Linked DNA regions of Homo sapiens: regions 1, 2, 3, 5 and 6 are each linked to region 4. Evidence: promoter capture Hi-C in 16 types of primary human blood cells and fetal thymus (Javierre and others, 2016). All regions are on one chromosome and are shown on one strand. The core of a region is centred on a gene start or on the middle of the fragment in contact, and the rest is flanking DNA. Distances in the headings are between cores, read along the strand shown.

Region 1 (3,828 bases), core at 682-3,181, 310 kb before region 4:
TTAGATTACTACTTTTTAAAATACTTGTTGTTGCTGTTGTTTTACTGTAAAACTTCTGGTATAAAATAGGTTTATTTTTCTGGCTGGGCACAGTGGCTCATACCTGTAATCCCAGCACTTTGGGAGGCTGAGGCAGGCAGATCTCTTGAGCTCATGAGTTCAAGACCAGCCTAGGCAACATGGCGAAATCCTGTCTCTACAAAATATACAAAAATTAGCCGAGCGTCGTGGTGTGCATCTGTAGTCCCAGCTACTCAGGAGGCTGAAGATGGGAAGATGGCTTGAGCCTGGGAGGCAGAGGTTGCAGTAAGCCAAGATGGCACCACTGCACTGCAGCCTAGGCAATAGAGCCAAATTTTGTCAAAAAATAATAATAATAATAATTTTTCTAATATTGGAATTATAAAAGGCTTTTCTTTGGATAACACTAACCTAATACCATAGTAAAAGACAGATAGGATTAACTACATAAACATTTTAAAACTCCTACATGCAAAAGATACTACAAAATGAATACAAATGACAAAGAGATAAATAATACTTGCAAAGTCTATGTAAAGGTTTACATAATACACAAGAAGCTCCTATTTAAAACCAAAAGAAAAAAGAAAAAAAAACCCACTCCACAGAAATATGAGTAAAGGACATAACAGACAAAATCCACAGTGAAAGAAATACAAGAACTAATAAAACGTGAAATGTTGCTCAGCCTTACTAATAATAAAACTGTAAGCTTAAAAATTAGGAGACATCATTCCTCACCTAGCAAATTGGCAAAGATTTAAAAGCTTAATAATAACCAGTGTGAGAGAAGGTCACAGTACTCTATACATGATTAATGGTGATATAAATAGTTACCCTCTTTCTGGGGAGAAGTTTAAGAATTTGTATCAAAATGTAAAAGGTGTATTCTTTTAACCCAGCAGTTCTTACCCTGAGAATATCCAACAGCAATACAGTTTTGTTTTTAATAAGGACAAATTGAGAGAAAACTAAATTTCCATAAACAGAAGATTGGTTAAGTAATTGCTTAAATAATAGGAAGCACTATGCAACTGTTAAAAAGTAAGAGCAATCTGTATTTAATGACATGGGCTATGCATAACTAAAATATACCATCAACTAAAAACAGTAGTTTACAAAACAGGATTATGATGGAATCCTGTTCATGTCAATCGTTGTGTGTGTGTGATGTAAACTGTGTGTGCACAAGCACGTGTGTGCATGTTTGTGTAGATGAGGTTGTGAGGAATATGTACCAATCTGTTAACAGCAGTAACCTTTGGAGAAGAGGTGGGGATAAATCGTGGTGAAATAGAACCAGACAGAAGAGAGACATGTTCTGAATTATAACTTTTGAATTTTTTGTAGTTTTGACAAAAGCATGTACTTAAAAAAACTATATTTAAATATTTTAATATTATAAAACATTTTATTTTATTAAGGACAGGGAGGGGGTTCTCCTGAATGACCTGTTAATCATGAAGAACATATACAGTGTCCAGAGTACAGGGAAAGAACAGGTCACAAATGCAATGATTAGGAAAGGCTTCATAAATTGTGTTTCAGCTGGTCCTTAACACGTAGCTTTGGATAAGTGAAGATGATGGGAGAAAAAGAGAACTCTCAGGTATAAAATGACTTAAGCAAAGGTGCAGGCTTAGAAATCAATAAGATCTATTGCATGTTCCAGTTATCTGTTGTTGTATCCCAAACCAAACTAAAACTTGATGACTTAAAACAACAGCAGTCATCAACTCTCACCATTGGGGGAACAGAGTAGGCTCAGCTAAGCGGTTCTCGCTTGAGGGTTGTCAGGTGATTGCAGTTAGCTATGAGGCAGGAGTTATCTTGAAGTTTACTCATGCCCGGAGGTTGATACTAACTGTTTGCCATCAGCCAGAATACCTACTTGGAGCCTTGCCACATGACCTGGGTTTCCTCACAGCTTGGTAGCTGAGTTCTAAGGGTGAGCATCTTTTTTTTTTAATTATTTTTATTTTTATTTATTTTATTATTATTATTTTTTTGAGACAGTCTCACTGTCACCCAAGCTGGAGTGCAAAGGCACAATCTGGGCTCACTGCAACCTCCACCTCCTGGGTTCAAGCAATTCTCCTGCCTCAGCCTCCTGAGTAGCTGGAATTACAGGCACCTGCCACCACACTTTTTGTATTTTTAGTAGAGTCAGGGTTTCACCATGTTGGCCAGGCTGGTCTCAAACTCCTGATCTCAGCTAATCCACTTGCCTCGGCCTCCCAAAGTGCTGGGATTACAGGCGTGAGCCACCACGCTCGGCCAGGGTGAGCATCTTTAGAGGACCAGACTAACACTGCATTACCTTTTACTTATTTATTTATTTAATGTTATTATTATTATTATTTTGAGACAGAGTTTTGCTCTTGTTGCCCAAGCTGGAGTGCAGTGGCGTGATGTTGGATCACTGCAACCTCCACCCCCTGGGTTCATGTGATTCTTATGCCTCAGCCTCCCAAGTAGCTGGGATTACACGCATGTGCCATCACGCCTAGCTAATTTTTTGTATTTTTTAGTAGAGATGGGTTTTCACCATATTGGCCAGGCTGGTCTTGAACTCCTGACCTCAGGCGATTTGCCCACCTCAGCCTCCCAAAGTGCTGGGATTACAGGTGTGAGCCACCGTGGCCAGCCTGCATTACCTTTTATAACCTGGCCTCAGGTAGCACATAGCATCACTTTTGCTATAGGCACGGGCCCATTCAGATTCAAGGGAAGGGACCATCGGTGCTCTCCAAACCCTACCCTTGAGGAATTATCAATGTCACACTGTAAGAAGAACATGTAGGTTGGGAGATCTTGGCTTGAGCTCTTCTGTTTGTCACAGTTTCAAACACTCTCTAAAGTCTCTTCTGACAGGGGCCAGTTTTTCCTATCTACATTACCCTCTGGCATTCATAGGCCTTGGAATTTGTACCTCCTAACAGATAAGAGAAATTCAGAGGGTTTTGAGTAAAGTAGTAATACGGTAGGCTTTTTGCTTTAAAATGATCACTATGGTGGTATCTTACAGGGAGGACTAAAGGGAGGAAAGCTTAAACAATAAAAACAGTAGGTGTTAGAGCTATGCCCCTACTCATCAACTCTCCAATTCAGAAAAATGGTGCCTAAGTATGATTGACAGGAGTCTTCCATATTCCTTACCAAAGCCTTCAGTCTTCGGAATGCTTTCAGTGGGCCTCAATTCTTATAGAACCAGATGCTCTGTGCCTGGCAGGAAATTACTAGGCCTTGGGAAGTAATTGAACTTTTTGAGAATACCAAGGTACCACTTCGGGGATACTAACTGATATTTCTCCCACTGAGCAAAGGACATAGACTCCTTGGAAATTAAGCCTGACTTGACCACCAACTTACTCACTTCCCAAGTGCTCCAATAGTTTGTCTCCTAGTGTGGTGCTACAGAACAACATGGAGGAATGGGGAGGCAGAGCGGGCTACAGGGTCTGCACACATTGCTGGACTAGCAATTTGAAGTTTAGCTACAATCATTCCCAGCTTCCCTCAAGTCCTGTTAAGAGATTTGTGTAAGGCAATGAAAAGTGTACTATTGGCTTGGTTTTTGAAGTTTCTTTCCCTATTATTATTTTATTGGACAAACTGTCAAAATCCACCTGTTCTTTCTCAGAGATGTCCTTTCTTCCTTTTTCATTGGTGCTAGACAGAGTCGTTTTCCCTAATACTATGTAATTTAGGAGAGGCTGTGTCAATTGCATAAAATATTTCTAATCTCCATAATTAAGATGCTGCTGGTCTGACAGTTTTGCTCTCTTACTCCCCCTCAGCTAGTTG
Region 2 (3,644 bases), core at 635-3,134, 390 kb before region 4:
GATGTATTTAACAACATGCATGAATCTCAGTAGCATTATTATATGTTTTAAAAGGTAGACACAAAATACTACATAATATATAATTATTTGTATATGACATTCTAGAAAAAACAAAACTATACTACGAAAAGCAGATCAGTGGTTGTCTAGGGACAAGAATGGGGGCAAGGACTGACTACAAAGGGGCACAAGGTAATTTTCTAAGAGCAAAAGAAGTATGGATTGTGATGGAGGATGCATGACTGCATATAGTTACCAAATTCAAACTACACTTGAATGAGTAAATTTTACTATATGTAAGTTATAACTCAACAAAACTATAACAATGAAATATTTTTAAATTTCTTCCTGAAAATCGACTTTACAAAATCCAATTTAATTTAATGAGCCCCAGTGTGTAGTAAGAATTTAACCTTACTCAGAAAGAGATCTGGACTTTGCCCTTCACTTCTGGGAGTTAATTTCTAAGCCTTATAGGAGTGTCTTTGTTTACTTGGTGCTCTTGGGTCACAGAAGTCTAACAATGTGTTTTAGGGTTGGGGTAGACCACTCCACATACTATTTAGGGTGGGCGTCGACCACCCTAGAAAGACCAACAATGTTGTTTAGATTAAGAGTTTGGGATCACATGGTATCAAATTGACCAGAGGAGCTGGAGACTGGAGCCTGAGTCAGCCATATAATGGAGTCCCAACAAAAATTATGAACACTGAGGCTTAGGTGAGCTTCTTTGGTTAGCCATACTCTGTGTATTGTCACACACTGACACTGAGAAAGTACTGTGCTCGGACTCCGTGTACTCCACTCTCCCCAAGGGAGACAACAATGGAAGCTCTGCCCCATGCACTCCTTTTGTTGGCTGATTTTACTCTATATCCTTTCCTAAAAATAAACCATAACCATGAGTACAGTAGCGTTCAGTGAGTTCTGCAAGTCTTCCTGGCAAATAATTTGCCAGGAAATAGGTGGTTTTATGGACCCCTGATCTTGCAATTGGGGTCAGATATAAGGGTGGTTGTGTGTGGACTGTGTGCCCTCTAACTTCTTAGATGCCCTCAACTCTGACACCCAGGTAAACACAAGTGGGTGGCAAACCCACTTGATTGCCATCAAACTCATAGTTGAAGCAGTTAATAATTACCTGAAGTATATTACAAAGGTCATTGTCTATCAGCTCATGAACAATGACTAAAGCTTGTAAAAATCTTCACAGGTGTCAGGTAACCTAGAACCAACTCAAGTAGTGAGACTTCAGATTGAGCATTTGTACCAGCTGTTTAACTTAGACATGGCAAACATATACACCTAGTCAAACAACACGGAGAAAAACCAATCATCCCTTCCTTGCCGCCTAGCTGCATACATGTCATCTAATTCTGTTAAACAGGTTTTCACTTCCCTATTTAGAATTGGCAAAACATTTTGACTTTGAACTCCCGCATTTTCTAAGGTACGTAGCTGGATCTCCTCTTTCAAATTGCTCGCAGTATTTTCCACAGCAAGTATTATCCTAAAGGCAGAAATGCACTAGCAATACAGATGTTACCTTTGTAAAGAGTTTAAAAATTTAGGCTTAAGAGTAGTATGGTCACAAAATATGACAAAAAAATCTCCATAAATTTACCTTCTGAAAATTTAGTTAGCGTCTTTACAACTTCTAATATTTTCCATGAGAGGGAATGAAAGTTTAGGAAAAAAACTGTATAGGCCGGGTGTAGTGGCTCACGCCTATAATCCCAGCACTTTGGGAGGCTGAGGTGGGGGGAACATTGAGGTCAGGAGTTCAAGACTGGCCTGGCCAACATGGTGAAACTCCATCTCTACTAAAAATACAAAAATTAGCTGGGTGTGGTGGCAGGTGCTTGTGATCCCAGCTACTTGGGAGGCTAAGGCAGGAGAATCTATTGAACTCGGGAGGCGGAGGTTGCAGTGAGCTGAGATCTTGCCCATTGCACTCCAGCCTGGGTGACAGGGCGAGACTCCATCTCAAAAAACAAACAAACAAAAAAACCTGTATAAATAATACAATAAGTTTTCATTTAGAACGTCACAGATGTTACTATTTCCAAATGCTTGTAAATTTGGGAGGAAATAAGTTCTCAAATACAAGTTTATGTGAGGTATCTATCTAGGCTGCTCTTTTCCACTTTATGCTAAAGTGGGAGTGACAGTAGGTTAGAGTTAGAATCAGAGAGTACTGACAGGAGACAGAGAGAGGAGTGCTTTCCCTCAAAGCAAAGCCAAATTCATCAAAGGCTTAGAGCATCTCCATTTGTTTAAACGTATCCCTAAGTGTGGGAAGAAGTAGGTGATCTACTGGGCTGCTCTGAGGAATACCTTGACAACAGGTAGGGAGAATACTCTGTAAAACTTAAGAATTAGTCCAATGGACAAATGTATACCTCTCTTCTTCTGAGCTTCTACAACTCCACAAGATAGAGTCAGGAGTACAAGATAGAGTCAGGAGCACCTTCCTGTGTGTGCCAGTCTTCTCTGGGCTTTAGGATGGCCAACAAGAATTCCAACCTGTAGACTCAACCACACTATTCCTCAGACAGTGAGAACCAAGCTTGGTATTCTAATCAGAATTCCATCTTCACTAGAAGATGGGCTCCTGGAGCCACCTCTCAGTCCCCAAACCCTCATAACCATCTAGTCACCTCTTCGTCCAATCACCATTATGTGTACCATCCTTCCACAGCCGACTTTACTTGACTTTACCCTGATAAAATGCAAGCCCTGCCTTGAACCCCCAAAATATGACAAAAAATATTTTCAAAGACATCTCCATAAACTTACCTTCTGAAAATTTAGTTAGCATCTTTATACCTAAATGAGGCTCCAAAACTCTGCCTAAAATTACCCTGTCCCTGAAACCCTGTCACTGGCTGAGAGTCTTCAACTCATATGTACAACCTGCAACCAAGATGCTGCCCTAAGGGGAGGTCAGAGAGATTCAAGACTGAGAATCTGACCCAATTTTGCTGGAGGATGGGAGTCATGAGCCATAGAATATATGCTATAGAATATATGTTACCTCCAGAAGCTGAAACTGACTCTCAGTTTATAGCCAGCAAGGAGATAGGAACTCAGTCCTACAGCCATGTGAAACTGAATTCTGTCAATAGCCTCAATGAGCTTGGAAGAGGATTCATTCCCTAGAACCTCAAGAAAAAAATCACAGCCCTGTCAACACTTTGATTTCAGCCTTCAAAACCCACAGCAACCAGCTAAGCCATGCTGTGCACAGACTTCTGATTTACAGAACTTCGTTGTTAAAAGCAATGAATTTGCTTCAGTTTCCGATTTACAGAACTTCATTGTTTAAAGCTTCTTACTTTATGGTAATTTGTTACAGCAACATTAGGAAAGTAATACAATGGTGGTTCCAGTACTATCACCAAATTGCCTTCTTTTCCTCTCCCCACCAGCCTGCTGTTAGGAACTCAGGAAAGTGGAGTCACTCAGCTTTCAATAGACAACACTTTTACATGACATTTCATCACTGAACTGTCATAATTTCTCTATGTATTTTGTCTTCCCCACTAGAATGCAAGGTCTTCAAGCACAGGGACTACAGATGTCTTTTTATCCTTTTTTTCCATTACCCAAGTAATGTATATATCGATTATAGAAAACTTAGG
Region 3 (4,035 bases), core at 379-2,878, 340 kb before region 4:
TTGAATCTAATGCTGATAGAAAAGATATATTGCAAAATAGAATCAAAGCGGAAAAGGAGTAGCTTCATATTGCTTAAGGGGAACATCTGGTAAAATGCGAATTAGTGGTTTATCTAGTGAATGAATGAAGAGTTTGCTATAATGAGCATAAGCAAAACCTCACAGATGGATATATCCTTTACTGGTTTTTTTATTGGCTTTATTCACTACTTTTCCCTCTAACATCAGTGTCAGTATTACTACCCTACCCTGTCTTTAAGTACCATGAAACATATTTATATGCATAAAGAAATAATAACCTACAGAACTATCACATTCATTAACATGTGACTGTGTGGGTGTGTAAAAGCAGAAGACAACAGGGTGGAAGATTCCTTGCAACTTAGAAATGCTGTTTGATCTCTAAAGAGCATCACAGCCAGGGAAAGTAGATTATTATTAATCCTACTAAGAGAAAAAAAACTCAGACACATATTGTTGAGGAAAAAAGCAAAAACAGTGATTTTAGAGCAATACAAAACTGCTTAATGAAGTATGATACGGCTATGTACAATGGTATGAACTGTCACTGCTCTGTGACTGCAGGTAAAAAAAAAAACTCAGACAATATACTCAGAACATAACATTTGCTAGTAATGGACTCACATCTTCAAGATTCCTACTGCTTGAATGAAATTCACTCAGTTGCAATTTTACACAAATCATCCACCATGAAATGATATAAGAGCCCAGCATCCTGAGTTTACATGTGAATTTTTCAAATCAATCCTGTTCAATAAGAACTAGAAAAAAGCAAAAAAGGAAAAATACAGCTTGTAAGCATTAATAAAAGCCAAATGTAATCCATTCATCTCCACAGTCTACATGAACCATGTTGACAATAAGGAATAACATCCACCCCCTTCTAATTCACCAATAACTCTATGTTTTAGAAATAGATTTTGGTCACTCATACTCTAATCAAACTTACTGTAATAAAAATTATCGGGCTGGGCGCAGTGGCCCATGCCTGTAATCCTAGCACTTTGGGAGGCCGAAGCAGGTGGATCACCCGAGGTCGGGAGTTCGAGATGAGCCTGGCCAACATGACAAAACCCTGTCTCTACTAAAAACACAAAAATTAGCCAGGTGTACTGGTGGGCACCTGTAATCCCAGCTACTAGGGAGGCTGAGGCAGGAGAATTGCTTGAACCTGGGAGGCGGAGGTTGCAGTGAGCCAAGATCGCGCCACTACATTCCAGCCTGGGTGACAGAGCAAGACTTCATCTCAAGGAAGAAAAAAAAAATTATATATACATACATATATATATATATATGAAAGAAAATTAAACGTACTGAAATTATTTTAACATTATACTTACTGTGGCATAAAATAATATTTACTTTTCTTTTTATTACCTACTTTCATGCATGTGTCACAAGAAAGGCCAGAGGCTTTGAATTTGCTTATATCCCTTAGCAGATGAGGAGACCTACTTTCAGCATTTGTGCTAGACAATGCTACACAAATTGAATTTTTTCAACTGACCAGTAGGCCATTCATCAACCTTAAGTGGAATTTGGGATACCTAAAAAATAGAGGAAAGAAAATAATATAAGACCTGTGTTCTAATTCCAACTCATTTGCTTACTAGCTAAATAATCTTAGACCTTTAACCTTTATGAATCAGCTTTTTCACCTGTAAAGAGAATAGTGATACCTAATACATACGGCTTTTTTTTTTTTCTCTCAGCCTTTCTCAAAGGTATATAAGTTTGTTCTTGATGGTGGTTCCAGATTTTCTGCATTGAGGGACACACGCAGTTCTCTGATTGGAAGGAGGTACAAGAACATGCCTCTGCATAGCACTGCATTGAAGATTATGAAAAGATTAACTGTCCTATCAAAGAATGGGGACTTGATGGAGATACTGAGGAGTTAAATATCTCCCAAGCCCCTCTCCTTGATCCCAAGACTGCCTGTTGTGGTGATTACATATTACAAAAAGGAAAAGTGAGGTAGGAGATATAAAGAAGACAAAAAAATGAATATCTACAGTACAGACTCATATAAGGTGTACAATTAAAAAAGTTATGTATTTTCTCCTTTTGATTAATTCAGTAGAAAGAGTCCAGGCTTCTAGATTTTCTTGGGAAAATTAAACCATTTTATCAGAATTCAATTCAACTCAACTTTGAACTCTTATTATGTGCAAGCTACTCTATTAGATACTGTTGAAGATGAGGAAAAAATAAAAACAGACTCTTGCTTTCAACTAGTATGTAAAACATAACAAAATAATTTCTACACCAGAGAAACAAAAATATTATGAGACCAAAGTACAGACTTCCATAACCCTAGAACTAGCATTTAAGATCACAATCAGGCCAGGCGCAGTGGCTCACGCCTGTAATCCCAGCACTTTGGGAGGTCGAGGCAGGAGGATCACCTGAGGTCAGGAGTTTGAGACCAGCCTGGCCAACATAGCGAAACCCCGTCTCTACTAAAACTACAAAAATTAGCCAGGCGTGATGGCAGGTGTCTATAATCCCAGCTACCTGGGAGGCTGAGGCAGGAGAATCACTTGAACCTGGGAGGTGGAGGTTGCCGTGTGCTGAGATTGCACCACTGCACTCCAGCCTGGGTGACAGAGTGAGACTCTGTCTGAAAGAAAAAAAAGAAAAAGATCACAATCTACCTTTCTGGCCAGACTTCACACTAGAGATAAACACACACTCCAGCCATCCCAAACCACTTTTGCCAAACACATTACACATTTCACACTTCTATGTGTTTGCTCGTACCATTCCCGCAGACTAGAGTTCCTTTACTGATATTCCAACGAAGTCATTATTCATCCTTTAAGACCAAATTCCATTCCTTTTCCTTCCACCCACTTGGAATTAAGGGAGGTAATTTAGGGGGAAAAAAAGATACAAGGGAACATAGGAGAGGAATGAAAGATTCTGTACCAGAGGAGCAATAAGATAAATGAGAGTAAGGGTTTGTCAGAACCTTCTAGAAAACCATCATTCCATGCTATACAGAAAATTAACAAGCCTAACAAGGTCTGACAGCAGGAATCCAAGAGGTGAGAGAAAACCTGTCAAGATTATGGGATAACAAGAAAACCTGCAGCAGAAATTTGAGAAATGTGTCCAGGAATTATAAAACAGAAGGACTTAAAGCCACGCTTGGTCTTTTCATCTATTATTCCAACAGGAAAGAAGCGTGTGAAAGTTAACCACTGATTACATAGATGGCATCAAAGAATAGAATTTAGTTTTTACCGTTTTAAGATGCTGCAAAGATTAAGCACTTAACCCTAGAAGAGGGAACCTAATTAAGTCTGGAAGAATGCCTTTGTTCAGAAACGCCTGTCTCATCCAAAGGGCTCTGAACTAAAAATAGAGAGGTAGAAAGAAACAATGTAAGTTGATACAATTACTGCATCATTCATTCAACAAACATTGACCAGGCACTGTTCTAACACTGGGGATACAGCAGTCAACAGACCTGACAAAATCCCAGTGCTTATGGTGGGAGAAAGCCAATACAAAAAATAGATAATGATTTCAGGTGATGATCAGCTTTTAAAAAAATACAGCCAAGTAAAGAAACAGAAAATGACAGCTAGGGTACAAGGTGTAGAACTGAGGGAGGAAGTCTGGCAAATCTAAGGGTAGAGCCAGAGAGAAAAGGAAGGCCCTGAAAGACGAAGGATCTCGAGGTGTTTGACAACAATGAACTTGGCCAGAACATAATAAATGAGAAGGATGGTAGTGGGGAGGTGAAGAGGGAGGCAGAGCCAGAGTAAGGTAGAGAAGAAGTCTGGATATTATATTTAAGTGTGATGGAAGCCTCTGGAGGGGAGAGGATGTGGAGTCTGAATCACCTTTTTGATCACTCAGGCTATTGAGTGGAGAAAGAACTGTAGGCAGCTAAGCACAAGACGACCATGAGTTGGGCTAGGGTGGCAGCAACAAAGTTGACCCATGTCAGATATGATTACGTAAAGAAAGACTACAGACAGTCTTAGGAGAAAATTTTTTAGA
Region 4 (3,649 bases), core at 484-2,983:
CAGGTTGGTTTCGAACTCCTGACCTGAGGTGAGCTGCCCACCTTGGCCTCCCAAAGTGCTGGGATTACAGGCATGAGCCACTGCGCCCAGCTCAGATCCATCCCTTTCTAAGGGCAAACAGTCCATGGTGCAAAGGGGCCATGCCACCCAGAGTTATGAGTACCTGGGACTCCAGAATTCCTTGCCTGGTGGCCTCCACATGCACTTCCAGGGCCTGCTTGGGCCTCTTCTATGGGTCTGTCCTGAGTGTTGATAGAACCACTGATGTGAGTACCTGGGCTTGAGCCGTGGCCTGGAGATCCTGTTGACTGTAGCATGGAGGGGGCTTGTGCAGCTGAATGTCTGTATGCAGGTGGTGGGAGTTCTGGAATATGATGGAGCTGGAGGTGGGAAGAGAAGTAGGCTTGGGGCAGCTCTCTCATGCCACCTCATTCTGGCCAAAACTCAGGTCAAACTGTGAAGAGTCTAAATGTGAATCTGCCCTTCAAGGTGGCTACAAAGGTATCTTTGTCAAGGTAGGAGACCTTGTGGCCTCCACGTGCACTTCCAGGGCCTGCTTGGGCCTCTTCTACGGGTCTGTCCTGAGTCTTCTATGAATCTGCCCTTCAGGGCAGATTCATATTTAGACTCTTCACAGTTTGACCTGAGTTTTGGCCAGAATAAGGTGACATTTAGTTTGTTGGCTTGATGGATGACTTAAATATTTAGACATATGGTGTGTAGGCCTGCATTCCTACTCTTGCCTTTTTTTTTGCCCCTCCAGTGTTTTGGGTAGTTTTGCTCCCCTACAGCCAAAGGCAAACAGATAAGTTGGAGGTCTGGAGTGGCTACATAATTTTACACGACTGCAATTCTCTGGCTGCACTTCACAAATGTATACAAACTAAATACAAGTCCTGTGTTTTTATCACAGGGAGGCTGATCAATATAATGAAATTAAAAGGGGGCTGGTCCATATTGTTCTGTGTTTTTGTTTGTTTGTTTCTTTTTTTGTTTTTGTGGCCTCCTTCCTCTCAATTTATGAAGAGAAGCAGTAAGATGTTCCTCTCGGGTCCTCTGAGGGACCTGGGGAGCTCAGGCTGGGAATCTCCAAGGCAGTAGGTCGCCTATCAAAAATCAAAGTCCAGGTTTGTGGGGGGAAAACAAAAGCAGCCCATTACCCAGAGGACTGTCCGCCTTCCCCTCACCCCAGCCTAGGCCTTTGAAAGGAAACAAAAGACAAGACAAAATGATTGGCGTCCTGAGGGAGATTCAGCCTAGAGCTCTCTCTCCCCCAATCCCTCCCTCCGGCTGAGGAAACTAACAAAGGAAAAAAAAATTGCGGAAAGCAGGATTTAGAGGAAGCAAATTCCACTGGTGCCCTTGGCTGCCGGGAACGTGGACTAGAGAGTCTGCGGCGCAGCCCCGAGCCCAGCGCTTCCCGCGCGTCTTAGGCCGGCGGGCCCGGGCGGGGGAAGGGGACGCAGACCGCGGACCCTAAGACACCTGCTGTACCCTCCACCCCCACCCCACCCACCTCCCCCCAACTCCCTAGATGTGTCGTGGGCGGCTGAACGTCGCCCGTTTAAGGGGCGGGCCCCGGCTCCACGTGCTTTCTGCTGAGTGACTGAACTACATAAACAGAGGCCGGGAACGGGGCGGGGAGGAGGGAGAGCACAGGCTTTGACCGATAGTAACCTCTGCGCTCGGTGCAGCCGAATCTATAAAAGGAACTAGTCCCGGCAAAAACCCCGTAATTGCGAGCGAGAGTGAGTGGGGCCGGGACCCGCAGAGCCGAGCCGACCCTTCTCTCCCGGGCTGCGGCAGGGCAGGGCGGGGAGCTCCGCGCACCAACAGAGCCGGTTCTCAGGGCGCTTTGCTCCTTGTTTTTTCCCCGGTTCTGTTTTCTCCCCTTCTCCGGAAGGCTTGTCAAGGGGTAGGAGAAAGAGACGCAAACACAAAAGTGGAAAACAGGTAAGAGGCTCTCCAGTGACTTACTTGGGCGTTATTGTTTTGTTTCGAGGCCAAGGAGGCTTCGGGAAGTGCTCGGTTTCGGGGACTTTGATCCGGAGCCCCACATCCCCACCACTTGCAACTCAGATGGGACCGGAGGCGGTGTTAAATGGGGAGACGATGTCCTAGTACGAGCTCTGGTGACCCCAGGACTCTGCGCTGCTGCGCTTGGGGCTTGCCCGACGGTGGAGACCGGGGAGCATCTCTGGGCGTGGAGACCCGGGCGCAGTACCCCGGGCTCAGAGGGGTCGGGGGTTCCCGGGCGTGCTGAGGGCGCTGCTGCCGGGTGGGGAGAGCTGCAGGTCCGGCACCGAGCGCTGCTTTGTTCGGAGGGCCCTGAGCTGGCTAGAAACCCTTCTGGTTGCAGGTCGGCCAGTACCTACGGAGACAAATGCCAGCACTGAGTCTTCACTCGGTTCTTAAGAAGCTGGTCTGTTCTGACCTGGGAATTGGCTATATGCTCCCCGGGACTGGAGCGGCACAGTCCCGGACTGTGAATCCGGGAACTCGAGTTGGAGGTGTCCCAAACGGTCCGTGGTGCTATTGCTCACTAGAGGCCTTGGGTCTTTGTTTGACCTGAGGGGTAGGGAGGTCCTGCCTACAGTCTCCGTGCGCTCAGCTGAGCTGGTGTCCCTGGCGCAGAGCGCGGACGAGTTTTGTTTCCTTTTCTTTTTCTTTTTTTTCTTTCCTTTAAGTCTCGGTCTGTCGCCCAGGCTGGAGTGCAATGGAACGATCTCCGCTCACTGCAACCTCCGCCTCCCGGGTTCAAGCGATTCTCCTGCCTCAGCCTCCTGAGTAGCTGGGATTACAGGCGCGTCACCACATCCAGCTAATTTTTGTATTTTTAGTAGAGACGGGGTTTCAACTTGTTGGCCAGGCTGGTCTCGAACCCTCGACCTCAGGTGATCCACCGGCCTCGGCCTCCCCAAGTGCTGGGATTATAGGCGTGAGCCACCGCGCGCGGCCGAGTTTTGTTTCTTTTAAAAACAAGACTTAGGAGAGCCTGCGGAGACCCGGAGGTGGGGTGCCCAATCCTCCCTCTCCCACGTTCCCTGCAGCCCCATCTTCCAGACCGTTGCTGCTGGTCTCTCGGGGCAGCTTCTGCCTGGGCGCAGATGGGGAAGCTGGGCCGAGGTGGTGCCGTGGAATGACCGGGAGTAACCCCGGCGGGCGGCGCAGAACTCGGAGCTCCGCCGCGGGGCTGGGCTGGGCTCTGCCGTGAGGGTGGGGGTGCTGGGCGCGCGGGCTGCGGTGGCCCCCGGAGACTGGCCCGCAGCGCCTCCTGGCCGGAGGACCTAGGAATCGGCCGGCTCTACTAGGTGTCTTTGCTCGCGGTTCCGACTGTGAATCCGGTGAAGACCGGTGGTTGCAGACGGGGAGGAACTATGAGGTTGAGGCGAAAGCCCGTTTTGTTTTTTTTTTTTTGTTTTTTTGGTTTTTTTTTTTGTTAGCGTGTTTGCCAACTCCCAGGCCATTGGTAAAGCAGGAAGGTTCTTGGGGCGGCGGACGGTGCCAGGGTTATGTGTAGGTGCCTCTTTAGGTATATCTTTTATCAAAAAGAAGCAAAGAAATAAGATTAAAAATAAACAAAGAAAAAAGTTGTCTGGCACTGGCAGTAATTGGCCTGCCTTTGCAGCACTGATACCATTAGCTTTTA
Region 5 (4,057 bases), core at 1,077-3,576, 270 kb before region 4:
GCTTCTCATGGATCGTGCAAAGCACCACCAGGACAGACATCTCAAGCACATTTGAAGAGCTCCTGTTTCCTAAGTAAGACAGCAGCAGCAAGACTGCAATCATTTCTGGGAAGGCAGTATCATCATAATGCAATATTAGCTACTGTGATCTTCTATCATTTCCTTCCTGGAGAGTTATGACTGTGGCATTGAAGATTTAAGACCTACAGCCTCAACACTACTTACTACAAATCTCTCACAAAGCTGCTGCAATAAATCTCGTGGAGGAAAGTCATTGCATAAAAAAATCCTCAACTCCAGGGAGTTGGCCATTTATTTTCCTAGAAAAGGGGCTGTGATGAGAGACACTCCATGCTCCTTTAACTCCATGGAACAGAACCCAACAAAACATTCATCATGGAAAGTTGACTGATGGGCCCAGTGAGACTAGCTGGGGAAGGAAGATGGAAAGAGAAGTGCCCCATCCAAGGCCTGCTCCTTTTCCTAGCTGCAGCCCGGAGGGATTTCCTCTTAGCTTGAGGATTGACTTTCCATAGAATCAGCACCACTGAGGGTAAGCTTCCCTGAAGACAAACTCTGTCATTGGAGAGCTCAGCCAGGGGTCTAAAACTGGACCCTATGGACTCCACAGATTTATTTAGTCTGCACAGTGTTTAAAAATGTTTTTAGTTAGGGCCAGGCATGGTGGCTCCCACCTGTAATCCCAGCACTTTGAGAGGCCGAGGTGGGTGGATCACCTAAGGTCAGGAGTTTGAGACCAGCCTGCCTGACATGGCAAAACCCAGTCTCTACTAAAAATACAAAAATTAGCTGGGCATGGTTGCTCAGGCCTGTAATCTCAGATACTTGGGAGGCTGAGGCACAAGAATCACTTGAACCTGGGAGGCGGAGGTTGCAGTGAGCCAAGATCGCACCATTGCACTCCAGCTTGGGTGACAAGAGTGAAACTCCATCTCAAAAAAAAAAAAAAAAGTTTCTAGTTAGTTCCCAACATAAAAAATTAACAATTTTGCAAAGAAAGATAAAATCCAGATTTTGGGCTCCCCTAAACAAATTGGGATATCTGAAAACAGTGGGCCACATTCCTACATTCCTGCCCCTGTTGACAGTATGCGCCTGCTCTAATTTTACTTCCCCTTTTACCCTAACTGCCCTGTAGGGAATGGAGTTTGCAATCCCCATACTAATCCATCACCCTGCAGGTCCATTCCCCTCCTCCCTGACCTCTGTTCTGATAAGGGGTGAGAGAATGAACCCCCATATGTATTGAATGGAAAATACATGTATTGGCCAGGCACAGCGGCTCACACTTGTAATCCCAGCACTTTGGGAGGCCAAGATGGGCAGATCACCTGAGGTCAGGAGTTCAAGACCAGCCTGGCCAATATGGCGAAACCGTGTTTCTACTAAAAATAATTTAAAAACAAAATTAGCCAGACATGATGGCAGGCGCCTATAATCCCAACTACTCAGGAGGCTGGGGCAGGAGAATCGTTTGAACCCAGGAGGCGGAGGCTGCAGTGAGCCAAGATCGCACCATGGCACACCAGCCTGGGCAACAAGACTGAAACTCCATCTCAAAAAAAATAAAAATAAAAATACATGTATTGATGAGAAAATACAACTGACTAATCCCACCTAAACCATGACCTCATATAAATTCAGAAGATCTTTCTAACATGGCAGGGAGGCAGCCTAGTATAAAGCAAAGAGCACATGCTTTGCGAATGTAAACCAAAAATAAAAGTTGAAGGCCCTCCTCACCATATGAATGGTCTCCTTCCTTTGCCAGGGCACCCTAAAATTTAACTGGTTGAGGCCATGATGGGTAGTAGGGGTTGGACATGCCTCATTATACCCTTCCAGCAGTAACATCAACACAGACTTTAAGTCTGATAAGAAACATTTACAGTCTATTTTCTCTAAAGCCTGCTACTTGGAGATATAAAACCTAGGTCTCCACAACCCCTATTGTAACCCAGCCATTTCTTTCTAATGATAATAAGTCTTTCAACCAATTGCCAATCAGAATATGTTTAAATCTTCCTATGACCTAGAAGCACCCCACTCTTTGAGTTGTCCCACCCTTCCAGATTGAACCAATGTAAATGGTTCAATTGATTGATGTGTTATATCTCCCTAAAGTGTATAAAAGGAAGCTGTACCTCAACCATCTTGGGCACGCGTCTTCAGGAACTCCTGAGTCTGTGTCACAGGTGTGTCCTTAACCTTGGCAAAGTAAACTTTCCATTACTTATAATGGCAAAAACTGCAATTACTTTTGCACCAACCTAATAAATGGATTGAGACTTGCCTCAGATACTTATTGGTTTATACCTAGAGGCAGACCTTGGCTCAAATCCCATCTCTCCCTTACTCTGGGATATTGTCCAACTTGCTCAGCCTCTTGAAACCTACTTTGCTTACAGCAAAATGGGTATAAGGGGATCTTTCACCCAAGCCTTTTGTGAGGACTAAATGTGGTAATGGACATTAAGTGCCAGACCCCTTGAATGTGCCATCTTCTCTCAGCTTCTATAATGTCATGCTGTCAGTTCCCTCCTTTTCTTTTTTTCTTTTCTTTTCTTTTTTTTTTTTTTTTTTGAGACGGAGTCTTGCTCTGTCCCCCAGGCTGGAGTGCAGTGGCACGATCTCGGCTCACTGCAAGCTCCGCCTCCCGGGTTCACGCCATTCTCCTGCCTCAGCCTTCCGAGTAGCTGGGACTACAGGCGTCCGTCACCGCGCCTGGCTAATTGTTTTTGTATTTTTCTTAGAGACTGGGTTTCACAGTGGTCTCGATCTCCTGACCTCGTGGTCCGCCCGCCTCGGCCTCCCAAAGTGCTGGGATTACAGGTGTGAGCCACCGCGCCCAGCCTAGTTCCCTCCTTTTCATGGCTTCTTTGCTTCATCTTTTCTGTCTCCTTTGAAGGTATGCCTTCCTGGAATATACCATAAATGTCAGTGTTCCTCAGGATTCTATCTTGACCTGACTCCCCCGACCCAACTGCTAGCTTTTCCCTCTGTCTAATGCTGGTACAGATACATAAACTGATAGGTAGATTACAACACAATTCGATTTTCTGTTTTGCTTTTTTTTTTGGCTTATTATTACATAAACTTTTTTTCATTGCTGCCATACATTCTTCAAAATAAACACTTCGGGGGGCGAGCTGGCCCAGCACTTTGGGAGGCCAAGGAGGTGGATCACTTCAGGTCAGGAGTTCGAGACCAGCCTGACCAACATGGTGAAACCCCCATCTCTACTAAAAATACAAAAATTAGCCGGGTGTTGGTGCAAGCACCTGTAATCTCAACTGCTCGGGAGGCTGAGGCATGAAAATCACTTGAACCCGCGAGGCAGAGGTTGCAGTGAGCCAATATAGTACCACTGTACTCCAGCCTGGGCAACAGAGCTGCGAGACCTTGTCTCAAACAAAACAAAACAAAACAAAATAAACACTTCATGGCTGAACAATATGCCATTTCCTGAATAGATTGTAATTTACCTAATCATTTCTCTAATAGTGGACACTTAGGTTGTTCTAATTTTGAAAGGCAGGAATACCAAGAATGTTTTCTTGCACATGGCAGATTATTTCTCAGTATAGGCTCATCCTTTCGAGTATATGGCATCTTTTCTTCTTTCCCTCCTCTCTCTCCTCAGAAGTACTCAAGGCCCCGGAGATACTTTGGCTGTATCCCCACCAATCTCATCTTGAATTGTAGCTCCCATGATTCCCATGTATCCTGAGAGGGACCCAGTGGGAGGTAATTGAATCATGGGGGCAGGTCTTTCCCGTGCTGTTCTAGAGATAGTGAATGAGTCTCACAAGATCTGATGGTTTTATAAAGGGCGGTTCCCCTACACAAGTTCTCTCTTGCCTGCCACTTTGCTCCTCATTTGCTCTCTGCCATGACTGTGAGCCCTCCCCAGCCATATGCAACTGTGAGTCAATTAAACCTCTTTTCTTAATAAATTACCCAGTCTCTGGTATGTCTGTATTAGCAGTGTGAGACAGACTAATACAGCCCTTATGTGTCCAGAAGTACTGACTTT
Region 6 (4,109 bases), core at 1,434-3,933, 370 kb before region 4:
TATTTATACAAATGTGCAATGTTACAAGTAATTCTTTGGAGCAGAGTTAAGTATATGCCCAGTAATTCCAAAATAGTGATGAAAGTTCAAATGTAGAAGATAGAACTTAAGAAGGCTGACAGCAACTTGCTTTGAAAAACACTCTAAGTTCTAGACAACTCAAGCATTAGAAAAACCTTGAAACTAAGGGAAGAAATAAAAGAGAAGTACAAATATTGATGAAGAGATGAACATGTATAAGATTTAATGGTAGAGATGAGTGAAAGATGACAAGATCTTAGAATATTTAAGAACTAGACCATAGGTATCAAAAAATCAGCAAAAAACTGCAAATAAAGTCAGAGAATAAAGGTATGGTTTGAGTGTCAGGCTGCAAGATTACTAAGAAGAAATAATCTGTAAGAGAAGCAGGCAGCTGGGCCACTCGATTAAAAGGACATAGCCAGAAAGTTCCAGTTCCTATTCTATCTTTGCCACTTATTTCCAGCAGTATATTCTTAGACAAGCTAATATTTAACCTTGCTATACTTTGTCTATAAGCAGGGGATAAAACCTATTTCATTGAAAAAAATTTAAAAGATACATACAGATATATATATATACACGTACTAAAGTGTTGAGCATAGATTAATGCCCAACAAATGTTTGTTAAATGTTTATTTTAAAAGTACTATAGAATGAAATCCAAAGAGAGAGAAATCGTCTAAAAATCGTTTAAAACAAATACTCAGAAGCCAAAAAATGCTGAATCTCTGTTGTGCCAAGGAATAGAACTTTGAGATTTCTTATTTCCACATGGCAAAATACGATGTTAGCTCAATTCCATGAAGGTAGTAATCCATTAAAGGAATCATTCGAAAACAAATAATGCTATGCCAACATTTAAAAGTACACACAGTGGGTCTTAATTACCATCATACTGAAATCAACATTATATTAATTACCATTGCATTAAAATGTTTCAGTAAACAAATAACTCCTTAGTCTCAAGTCACTCCCAAATCAGCCTATTAACATTAATGATTGCACTTTCCTGACCTGTTTTAGCACAGAAAATCCAAAGCACCTCGGGTGGCATGGTACATGTTTTTGTAAACAATTTTGAAAGGTCAGCTGCTATTTGTCCCAGGGTTACATTCAGGGAGTGGGGAAAGGCTGTGGACTAATTCTGTTATCAAAGAATCTTTCTATGGCAGGGTGCGGTGGCTCACGCCTGTAATCCCAGCACTTTGGGAGGCCGAGATGGGTGGATCACCTGAGGTCAGGAGTTTGAGATCAGCCTGGCCAACACGGTGAAACCCCATCTAAAAATTCAAAATTAGCTGGGCGTGGTGGTACATGCCTGTAATCCCAGCTACTTGGGAGGCTGTGTAAGGAGAATCACTTGAACCTGGGAGGTGGAGGTTGCAGTGAGCCGAGATCACACCATGCACTCCAGCATGGGCAACAAGAGCAAAATTCTGTCTCAAAAAAAAAAAAAAATTTTTTTTCTCCACACGCTGCATAAACATTCATGCATGTTATATTTCAGCTGCCATTCCATTAAACTAAGTAAACTTTTGAGCAATATCTTTTAAGTCATTAAGTTAGGAGATGAGTATTTTGACCTTTCCTAAATATCCTAAATTTGGTGAAACGGTGCTTTTATCTTTAAAATAAACACTCCTTATTTTACTGGATTTATCGTATCTCATTAAAATGTATTGCTTTCTTTTCCTTTTCTCAGAGGCAGAACTGGTACCTACAATTGTGCCTATTAGCCAAGATGACAGTTGTTCTGTGATTCACAAATGGCGCTGGCCTGGTGGGCAGTCAGAGGAGACAAAGAGCAAGATTTTCATAAAGAAACTCTATAAAAGGTATAGTAAGAAGGGGGTTAAAAATACACATGAGTAGGAACAAGGCTGCCTGAGGTAGTGTAATTGCATTTTGAATTGTAGAAGACTAAGAAAGAGAGAGCAATAATGTATCTGCAGAGTCCCCTTGAGGAAGAGGAAATGGGGTGTTAGAAAACAGCATTGATCTGGAAGTGAACAGACCTGGGCTCTGTTCTCAGCTCTGTCATGAACTAGCAGTGTGGCCTTGGGATAGTAATTTCCATCTCTGAGTTTGATGTTTTTAATCTGTAAAATAAGGGCGATGGACTAGATGAGGATTTCCATGTCCTTTCTACTTCTAAATATCAGACCGCTTTAAAAATAGCAGTTTTCTATGTTTTTTCCAGCCCAGCACACTGGCAGGGACTCTAATGCCACTGAAGTCTGTGTCAGAAACTCCTGTAGGGCAGAGTGAGTATGCAATTGAATGTGCACATCCTTAATACCTTATACCAGCAACTCTGCTCCTCCATTCTCTATACCCACTGGAAAATCACCAGGTCCCTTGATCTCTAATTGAAAGATGCCACTCATTACAGCAGACACAGCAGGCAGCAGGGGCCGTTGGAAAACCACCAGGTCCCTTCATCTCCAATCGAAAGATGCCACTCATTACAGCAGACACAGAAGGCAGCAGGGGCCTAGGACAGGCAGAAGGAGGAAGGAGCAGTGAGCAACCAGCCTCCCATCTAGGAAGAACTGTGGAACACCAAGTCCCTGAGAGGAAATGACTGCCCTAAAGATAACCAACAAGTTGGTGTGACTGGGTTGGGTGAATATGCAGGGCTCATGACTCATGGTCACTGTTTTGCTCACCACTCTATCAAGATCAACATTCAGAGACTTACGTCAAATGATTTGCTTTCTGAAATGGTCTATTGAATGGCATATGAGTCCCAGCTGCTCCTTAATTTGAGCTCAGTTTTCATGTAGAAAAACAAATCAAGAGTGACACAAAATACCACTGAATTGTATGAGGACTGGTATATTCCACAACTGCCCTCATTAAAACAACTACTCGTCATTCCCTTGGATCATGAGTCCAGTTTGGACCATCTGTGAGAGTTTCCTTACCATCCCAATGCAGAAGAGGATGAAGAGCAGCAGCCATGGTATGTCTGTGCAGCTACGGTCCTCCAGCGGCTTCCATTCTCGTTTGGAGCTCTAATTGGAAATACAAAATAAGAGAGTGTTAAATGCTAAGTTTAGTTAAAGTTAGAAGGGCACAAATACACCAGCTATAGCTAGAGCCCTTCTTTGCCAAACAAGTTTCTATTGAACCTTTAAGACACAACTCAAATATTTGTCACCTTTTCTGTGACGTTTATGCTAACCCCCACAGCTAATAACTCCACTGGCCCTACTCCCACCCCTCTTCCTGGCCAGGCCCGGTACTGAGTTCATCGCTTTTTTGGTACCTGTATTAGAGTTTTTAGCAGGCTAAATTGTCATTCTTATTTGTTATGCTGTGTCCCAGCAGACTGTGAGTGTCATAAGGAAGAGACCAGGCTTATTTCTCGGCATCTAACATGATGCCTGAGGGTTCATAATATGTACTCAGTGAGGGCTTTTTAAAAATGAATAAATAAATGAATACACTCTTCCAACTTCACTCTTAATGCTAGCTTTTTCTTTGTGTGTCCAGATGCTAAACTTAAAAAAAAAGTTAGAATGTGCTGTTTATATATATGTTCTCTTCTAGGAAAGATGCCCATCAAAATGGATTCCTATTCAGGCCGGGCCCAGTGGCTCACATCTGTAATCCCAGCACTTTGGGAGGCCGAGGCGGGCAGATCACCTGAGGTCAGGAGTTTGAGACCAGCCTGGCCAACATGGCGAAACCCCGTCTCTACTAAAAATACAAACATTAGCTGGGCGTGGTGGTGGGCTGTAATTCCAGCTACTCGGGAGGCTGAGGCAGGAGAACCGCTTGAATTCAAGAGGCGGAGGTTGCAGTGAGCCAAGATCGTGCCACTGCACTCCAGCCTGGGCAACAAGAGCAAAACTCCATCTCAAAAACAAACAAACAACAACAACAACAACAACAAAAACGGGATTCCTATTCAGGGGTAGATTTATCTAAGTCAAAAAAAAATTCAGTTTCTATAGACAGATCTGTGCAGCTCCTAAACAATCCATGCATTTTCATCTTGTTCCTAGAAAATGTTAGTTTCTAGATCAAACACAGAGAATCCTGAACTACAGAACTAGCGGCATTCTAAAAGTTAACTT

The links. The method cuts DNA at HindIII sites, captures the fragments that hold promoters and counts their contacts. A CHiCAGO score of 5 or more calls a contact.
Region 1: a fragment that was not itself captured here is called in contact with the fragment with the promoter of ABCA1 in region 4 in 15 of 17 cell types (neutrophils, monocytes, activated CD4 T cells and 12 more); the score reaches 18.5 in neutrophils.
Region 2: a fragment that was not itself captured here is called in contact with the fragment with the promoter of ABCA1 in region 4 in 2 of 17 cell types (naive B cells and monocytes); the score reaches 5.5 in naive B cells.
Region 3: a contact is called between a fragment that was not itself captured here and the fragment with the promoter of ABCA1 in region 4, in 3 of 17 cell types (neutrophils, monocytes and M2 macrophages). The highest score is 13.0, in neutrophils.
Region 5: a contact is called between a fragment that was not itself captured here and the fragment with the promoter of ABCA1 in region 4, in 3 of 17 cell types (neutrophils, monocytes and M2 macrophages). The highest score is 13.3, in neutrophils.
Region 6: a fragment that was not itself captured here is called in contact with the fragment with the promoter of ABCA1 in region 4 in 3 of 17 cell types (monocytes, neutrophils and activated CD4 T cells); the score reaches 12.0 in monocytes.

Annotation. Positions count from the first base shown.
Region 1 is chr9:105,236,547-105,240,374 of GRCh38, reverse strand. All of the region lies in intron 1 of LOC112268038 (a long non-coding RNA gene), which reads left to right. Among named protein-coding and RNA genes, the nearest start is that of SLC44A1, 6.2 kb to the left of the region's middle. The HindIII fragment of the contact is 2,282 bases long and covers 791-3,072 here.
Region 2 is chr9:105,316,542-105,320,185 of GRCh38, reverse strand. The region is part of intron 3 of SLC44A1 (solute carrier family 44 member 1); the gene reads right to left. Among named protein-coding and RNA genes, the nearest start is that of SLC44A1, 74 kb to the right of the region's middle. The HindIII fragment of the contact is 1,375 bases long and covers 1,197-2,571 here.
Region 3 is chr9:105,270,244-105,274,278 of GRCh38, reverse strand. The region is part of intron 1 of SLC44A1 (solute carrier family 44 member 1); the gene reads right to left. Among named protein-coding and RNA genes, the nearest start is that of SLC44A1, 28 kb to the right of the region's middle. The HindIII fragment of the contact is 5,424 bases long and covers 1-4,035 here.
Region 4 is chr9:104,926,239-104,929,887 of GRCh38, reverse strand. ABCA1 (ATP binding cassette subfamily A member 1) reads left to right here and starts at 1,733. Exons shown (of 50, transcript NM_005502.4): 1 at 1,733-1,953. LOC105376196 (a long non-coding RNA gene) reads right to left here and starts at 3,099. Exons shown (of 3, transcript NR_188620.1): 1 at 1,978-3,099; 2 at 164-380. RefSeq lists silencers at 1,574-1,763, 3,100-3,339 and enhancers at 1,964-2,043, 2,364-2,423. The HindIII fragment of the contact is 9,744 bases long and covers 1-3,649 here.
Region 5 is chr9:105,195,296-105,199,352 of GRCh38, reverse strand. LOC112268038 (a long non-coding RNA gene) reads left to right here. Exons shown (of 3, transcript XR_002956866.2): 3 at 1-4,057. Among named protein-coding and RNA genes, the nearest start is that of SLC44A1, 47 kb to the left of the region's middle. The HindIII fragment of the contact is 3,532 bases long and covers 561-4,057 here.
Region 6 is chr9:105,298,152-105,302,260 of GRCh38, reverse strand. SLC44A1 (solute carrier family 44 member 1) reads right to left here. Exons shown (of 16, transcript NM_080546.5): 2 at 2,952-3,041. Among named protein-coding and RNA genes, the nearest start is that of SLC44A1, 56 kb to the right of the region's middle. RefSeq lists an enhancer at 2,086-3,285. The HindIII fragment of the contact is 7,345 bases long and covers 1-4,109 here.